Linked DNA regions of Homo sapiens: region 2 is linked to region 1. The links are contacts of gene promoters, found by promoter capture Hi-C in human tissues and cell types (Jung and others, 2019). All regions are on one chromosome and are shown on one strand. Each heading gives the region's core, a stretch centred on a gene start or on the middle of the fragment in contact. The rest is flanking DNA. Distances are from core to core; before and after follow the strand shown. Region 1 holds the start of SCG3 (secretogranin III). Region 2 overlaps LOC105370816 (a long non-coding RNA gene).

What was found. Contacts are between HindIII fragments. The study calls those that stand out against the background at their distance.
Region 2: a fragment that was not itself captured here is called in contact with the fragment with the promoter of SCG3 in region 1 in 1 of the 25 tissues and cell types used here (mesendoderm cells).

What each region holds. Positions count from the first base shown.
Region 1 is chr15:51,679,933-51,683,135 of GRCh38, reverse strand. It overlaps SCG3 (secretogranin III), which reads right to left and starts at 1,633. Exons shown (of 12, transcript NM_013243.4): 1 at 1,299-1,633; 2 at 567-619; 3 at 12-57. The coding sequence starts at 1,380. The HindIII fragment of the contact is 9,018 bases long and covers 1-3,203 here.
Region 2 is chr15:51,641,111-51,643,980 of GRCh38, reverse strand. All of the region lies in intron 2 of LOC105370816 (a long non-coding RNA gene), which reads left to right. Among named protein-coding and RNA genes, the nearest start is that of DMXL2, 20 kb to the right of the region's middle. The HindIII fragment of the contact is 6,959 bases long and covers 1-2,870 here.

The DNA of each region.
Region 1 (3,203 bases), core at 384-2,883:
TTTCTTTTTACCTGGAGGATATGTTTTTTTAATCTTGTCTTCTTCTGCTTCAGCAATCTGTGAAGCAAACAGGAGATAGACTTGGTTTAAAATCATTGCTCCACTACTTACCAAGTACAAGAGCCAAATGATTTAATCTCCATGGGATTTAATTGTCTTGTTTGTAAAATGTGGATAATTCCTATTTCAGAGCACTGTTATAATAATTAAATGAGATAAAATTAAGGGTAGATGCTCAGTCAGTGTTAATTTCTTTCTCCTATAATATTGTTGAAAGAGAAATCTCTGGTAAATTAGGCAATCTTACAACAGAGTGGATGTGATGCTGAGCTTACTGGGTTATTATATAGTTACTCTATGTATTCATTATACAGAACTCAATGTAAATAACTGCTAGGGCATAGAATTTACCAAAACTAGATTTCCCGTCCTAATTTCTGTCAATTAACTATTAAGTTCCTGATGTTTGTAAATTCAAAATGACCAAAATGTCACAGCATAATTACATTAAATAATAATAACTAAATCAAAATGAAATAGCATTCATAATGTTACTTTTGACCTACCTGTTCATTCAAAGGTCTTTCTGCACTTAATTCTCTATTATGTAGAGATTTGTCTAGAATAAACACATGTGAATATAAATTTAATTGTGCGTTGAAGGACAAAATATGCCTCTTATTAAATAAAATTTTTATAAAAAGGAAAAATATTAGGAGAAATAATTTTGGATGACTATGAAACAAATGCATATTAACAAAGATTATCAAGATTATACAATAATAGTAATTATCAATATTGCCTTGTTTATTATCTTGGTGTATTTCTTGAGCTGACAGAATCACACTTTTTTTTTTTTCTGACCAGAAATTTAACATATAGTTCTAACACTAGGGTTATCAGCTATTCTCAGCTAGAGAGAGCATAATTTGGATTGGTATTATTGGCACACTAAAAGCTCTTTCATCATATACTGCATATATAATGAATAGACTGTCTGAGAAAGGTTGTAAGGCAACTAGAAAACAATCCAAGCCACTTTAGGTGAAAAAGGTTCCCTTCCCTTTTCAAAATAAGATCTTTAAAAACAACCCATATTATTGCTCTATCATTTTAAAAGTGAAGAAAAAAAATCTGTCTTCTGTCTCTAAATTCGAACTGATTTCTCTGTCCGTATTCATGGATATGATTTGATCAGAAAACGCGTCAGGGTGATTTACAGCTCACGTATTATGCCAAACTTTACCTTTTCGTGGCGAAATAAAAGGAAGGTAGGAAGAAGAAAAGTGTTCACATACCTTGGCTTCCTCCAGGTTTGGGGAAAGCTTGAATCGGGAGCACTAACACCAGAATCCAAGTGCCGGTCCCGAGGAACCCCATTCTTCCACGCTCGGCTTGGGTCACAGCCCGGCGCTGGGCTCCTGGAGCTGTAGCTTTTGTTATGAATGAAAAGGAGGAGTAAAAACAGGAAGAGCCAGGAGGGTGGGTGTGGGGCGGGAGAGGGGCCGGGACTGGGCGGCTGCAGGATCTCTGACACTCGACGGTCAAGGGATAAGCAGGGTTGGGGCGCGCGGGAGTCAAGTCTCCAGGTAGAGGGGAGCGCTGTCCGCCCTGTGGGTGCTGAAGTTCCTGTGACGCGGAGACTGCGCGCCAGGGCGTAGCTTTACTCTCGCTCCCTCCTGCAGAGGAAGTGAGGAAGGAAGCGCATGCTCCATGCACGCCAGAGGCGGGAGGGGATGGCGTCGGTGACTCCAACGCTACTCCAATCCCCCGGGAATGGAACAAAGGAGGGGCGACCGGCCAGCTGGTGTATTTTCTGTGCTGCAGTCCTAGGGTGCTCCTGGGCTCAGGGTCAGCTGGCTTGTCCTAAGCGTGACAGAATTGTCCCAACCTCTCAAGTAAATGTTACTTCAAGGGCCAAATGCCTTCTCTGCCTGTGCACCTGTCAAGGAGATTTAGATAACCTTGTGCGAGGAGTTCTGCTTCGGGATTCTTCTTTTGGGATATCTGCTCCAGAATCCCTTCCTTCCATTCACCTCCTGTACCCAAAAGGTAGATATAATTATAATCTCTTTAGAAAAGCCCTGCCTTTTGTGGTCTGTGTTGACGTATCAAGCATCCCTCAGCTCTACCGAGGCTTTTGAATTGGGAAATTCAAGGAACAGTCTTCCAAATAGTCAGATTGCTGCAATACACTCTCACTCTCTGATGCTGAAACACAACAACAACAGAAACAGTCCTGAGTAGACGAGCAGCAATGGCAAATTCTCCTTTCCCCACCAAGTGGAACCTCCCCCACTTTACACACACACACCACACAACTAAATTAGAAAAAAGAAGCTGCATTTCTGTAAAATCTTGCCCAGAATTTAATTATGCCCAAAGACCTGGCTGTTCCAGGGGGTCCTTCAAGAGAGGGGATAGTCATGAAAAGCATTTTTCATCTTTACTAAGTCAGGGAGGTGCTTCCTATGTTCTGAGAATATTCCCAGAAGCCTAAGGTTATTGTATACAAGGAACTATCAAAAGACTTTAAATGATGAAAACAAGCAACATTAATGTGAGCAGGATGCTGAGTAAGCTCTTTAGTCTCTGATTTTTAAACAGAACTTGGACCTTTTCCTCTGGACTGCGGCATGCTGGGAACCAGTCTGAATAATGACCAAAGAGAAGGATTCAGCACAATCAGGCCTTTGATTTCTGCACCCTCCTTTTCAAGGAGGAAGTTATTCAAGTACCTAAAAACAAACAAACAACCAAGCTGACAAACAAATCTCCCTTGCTCCGGAGGTTTTTGAGTTTGGAAGTCACTCAAATACTTCCTTTGAGGATCTAAAGAGTATTCTAAATCTAACAGCTCCTTCAAAACAAAAAACTCTTTATTGGCAGTAATAACATAGCATTATTATCCCAGTATACTGCATTAAAAAATTAAGTCATATTTTAAAATCCCAGCTGAATGAAGGGTATATTTCCTTAGTTTCCTTTTCTTTATGATGGAAATGACAGGCTCTGTTTACCTCACACTGTTATTATGAAGATCAAATGGGTACATGTTTTGAACTAGTCATTTTGATACCAAGAATATTTTGATACAGCCTAAGAAAATAAGTCATGAAACGTTTTCAGCTTTTATGAAACATTACCCAACGCTATCTGAAATAGCCATTCACTGATCCTGAGACTCACTGACCTAATCCCTC
Region 2 (2,870 bases), core at 202-2,701, 39 kb after region 1:
TGTAATGCCAACTATTCGGGAGGCTGAGGCAGGAGGATCACTTGAACTCAGGAGGCTGAGGTTGCAGTGAGCCAAGATCATGCCACTGCACGGTAACAGAGCAAGACTCCGTCTAAAAAAAAAAAAAAAAAAAGCCCAAAAAACAAAAACAAAAAAACCCAAAATGTCTTTGTGTATTTATATTATTTAAAAAATCATCAAAAATGTTCCAACTACATAGAGGTAATGTTAGAAAATAGGTAATAGCCGGGTGCAGTGGCTCACGCCTGTAATCCCAGCACTTTGGGAGACTGAGGCAGGTGGATCACCTGACATCAGGAGTTAGAGACCATCCTGACCAACATGGTGAAACCCCATCTCCACTAAAAATACAAAAATTAGCTGGGCATGGTGGAATGCACCCGTAATTCCAACTGCTGGGAAGGCTGAGGCAGGAGAATCACCTGAGCCCGGGAGGCAAAGGTTGCAGTCAGCCGAGATTACATCATTGCACTCCAGCCTGGGCAACAAGAGCAAGACTCTGTCTCAAAAAAAAAAAAAAAAGTAAATAGGTGATAATGGCTACTTTTTTTTTTTCTTTTTGACATGGAGTCTCGCTCTGTCGCCCAGGCTGGAGTGCAGTGACGCGATCTCAGCTCACTGCAAGCTCCATCTCCCAGGTTCACACTATTCTCCTGCCTCAGCCTCCCGAGTAGCTGGGACTACAGGTGCATTCCACTATGCCCAGCTAATTTTTGTATTTTTAGTAGAGACGGGGTTTCACCATGTTGGTCAGGCTGGTCTCGAACTCCTGACCTCAGGTGATCCACCTGCCTCGGTCTCCCAAAGTACTGGGATTACAGGCATGAGCCACCGCACCCGGCTATAATGGCTACTTTTATTGAGCAACCATTGTGTGCCAGATCCTAAGAATAGCCATATATTATTACATTTAGTCCTTACACTCAGAAATGTAGTTTTATTCTCATTATTCAGATGAAAACACTGAAGATCAGAGAAATAAACTGCCTAAGATTACACAGTGAGTAGCTGGCAGAAGCAGCGTCTGAACAGCCCTCTGATTCTACAGCCTGTGCCCTTTCCTCCACATTACATTCAGGAAACAAGTCCTGTCCTGTTTTTAAGATCATTGGTTCTTCAACATCTTAGTTTTGAATCACAGAAAAGTAGAGCATTAGGTAGACAGGATTTCATAAGAAAAACAATTTAATAAGATAAACAAATTATTGGACAAGATCATAGTACAGGATAAGATCTGATCTTGCTTTGGGAAGTTTGAGAACAGTCATTACACTACTTATGGTGACTGGGTTCAAGCCCGGAGATGTCTTAAATAAGTGAGTAAGTCAACGTCATTGATGTCCCAAATGTCTATGGATCTCACTCTCTGATAACAGTTTCCAGACTTTTGAACTTCAGAGATATAAATAAATAACAAAGTGGGAAAAGGAATAAAAATAACCTTGCAAACTTTTTTATTTTGCCCAGTAAGGATGTTTTTAAAAAAGTCACACTACTCTGTACTATGACCTTTGTTTCCATAAAGATTAAACATTTTAGCGCTCCTCTCCTCCCAAACTGGAAAAATATAATTTGAAAACAAAGGATTGTTCCTCCAAAGAAAGAATAGTTGGTAACCTTAGTCTCCATATATATTCCCCATTGTCATTATTTTTGTCATATTTGCAGTAAAGGGGAGAACTCTGTCTTTTAGTGGTTCTGGTATTGGATAAATGAACTTACTTCATAGTTCCCAGAAATAATCTTTGTGTAAATTACAACTAAATCAGGAAAATGGAACAAGGTAAAGATCATATAGAAAGCTAATTGATCTTGCTTTGCATATAGACCTTCAAGTTTAATTTTTAAAAGTTGTTGAGTGACATTTCCATTTCTGGTATTTATTAAAAATTTGCAGGGTAAAGCATAAAGTTTTAATCTGTTAATCATTTGTTTAAGGTGGTAACTAATCTTTGAGAGCTTGAGGCCCAATGTATTTGTATTTCGACATTAGCCTGAGCCAGGGGTAAGTCAAGAACTAGCAGGAACTTCTCAATTTACAAATCCTAAGAGAAGAAAACAAGGAAGTTTCATTGCTTCAACCAAAAATGTTTACTAAGTGCTTATTTTAGTTTTGGACATAGGCACTAATAATATAGTTTATGGAGCCACTAGACCCCGAGCTCTTTAAGAGCAGACTCTGTGTAGTCCCAGCTGCTAACAGGTCCCAAGCCAAGTGAGGAGCACAAATAAAGTTTGTTGAATGAATGCGAGAATAAATAACAAGCACTTCTAAAAATCACAACAAAGACAGGATGAAAGGAAGCTTGTTTACTTAAACACGACTAACTAGAATCAAGGGATATGCCTTGACATTTATGAGGTAAATTTAGGAGAAATAAAGGAAACACAGGATAAAATAAAAATAAAGTAAAAGTGGGCAAAACCAAAATAATCCTAAACTGAAGCCAAAAACAAAGTCTTTCCCTCCCAGCAGCTCTGGATCCAATATTGGAGATGGACCCTTATTTAAGAAAACTGGAATTAGGCATTCTCATCATAAAATATATAAGTGGAATTTTGTTATTATAAAAAAGATATGTAGTATTTGCCAGAGAGGGCTCAGTGAGAGGGGTATTTTTTCTACTTCTACTGATTTTACTAGAAGATAGGACATGGATTTATATATATCTATATTTATTTATTTTCTTTCTTTCTTTCTTATTTATTTATTTATTTTTTTTAGATGAAGTCTTGCTCTGTTGCCCAGGGTGGAGTGCAGTGACGTGATCTCGGCTCACTGCAAGCTCCGCCTCCTGGGTTCACGTCATTGTCCTGCCTCAGCCTCCTGAGTAGCTGGGACTACAGGC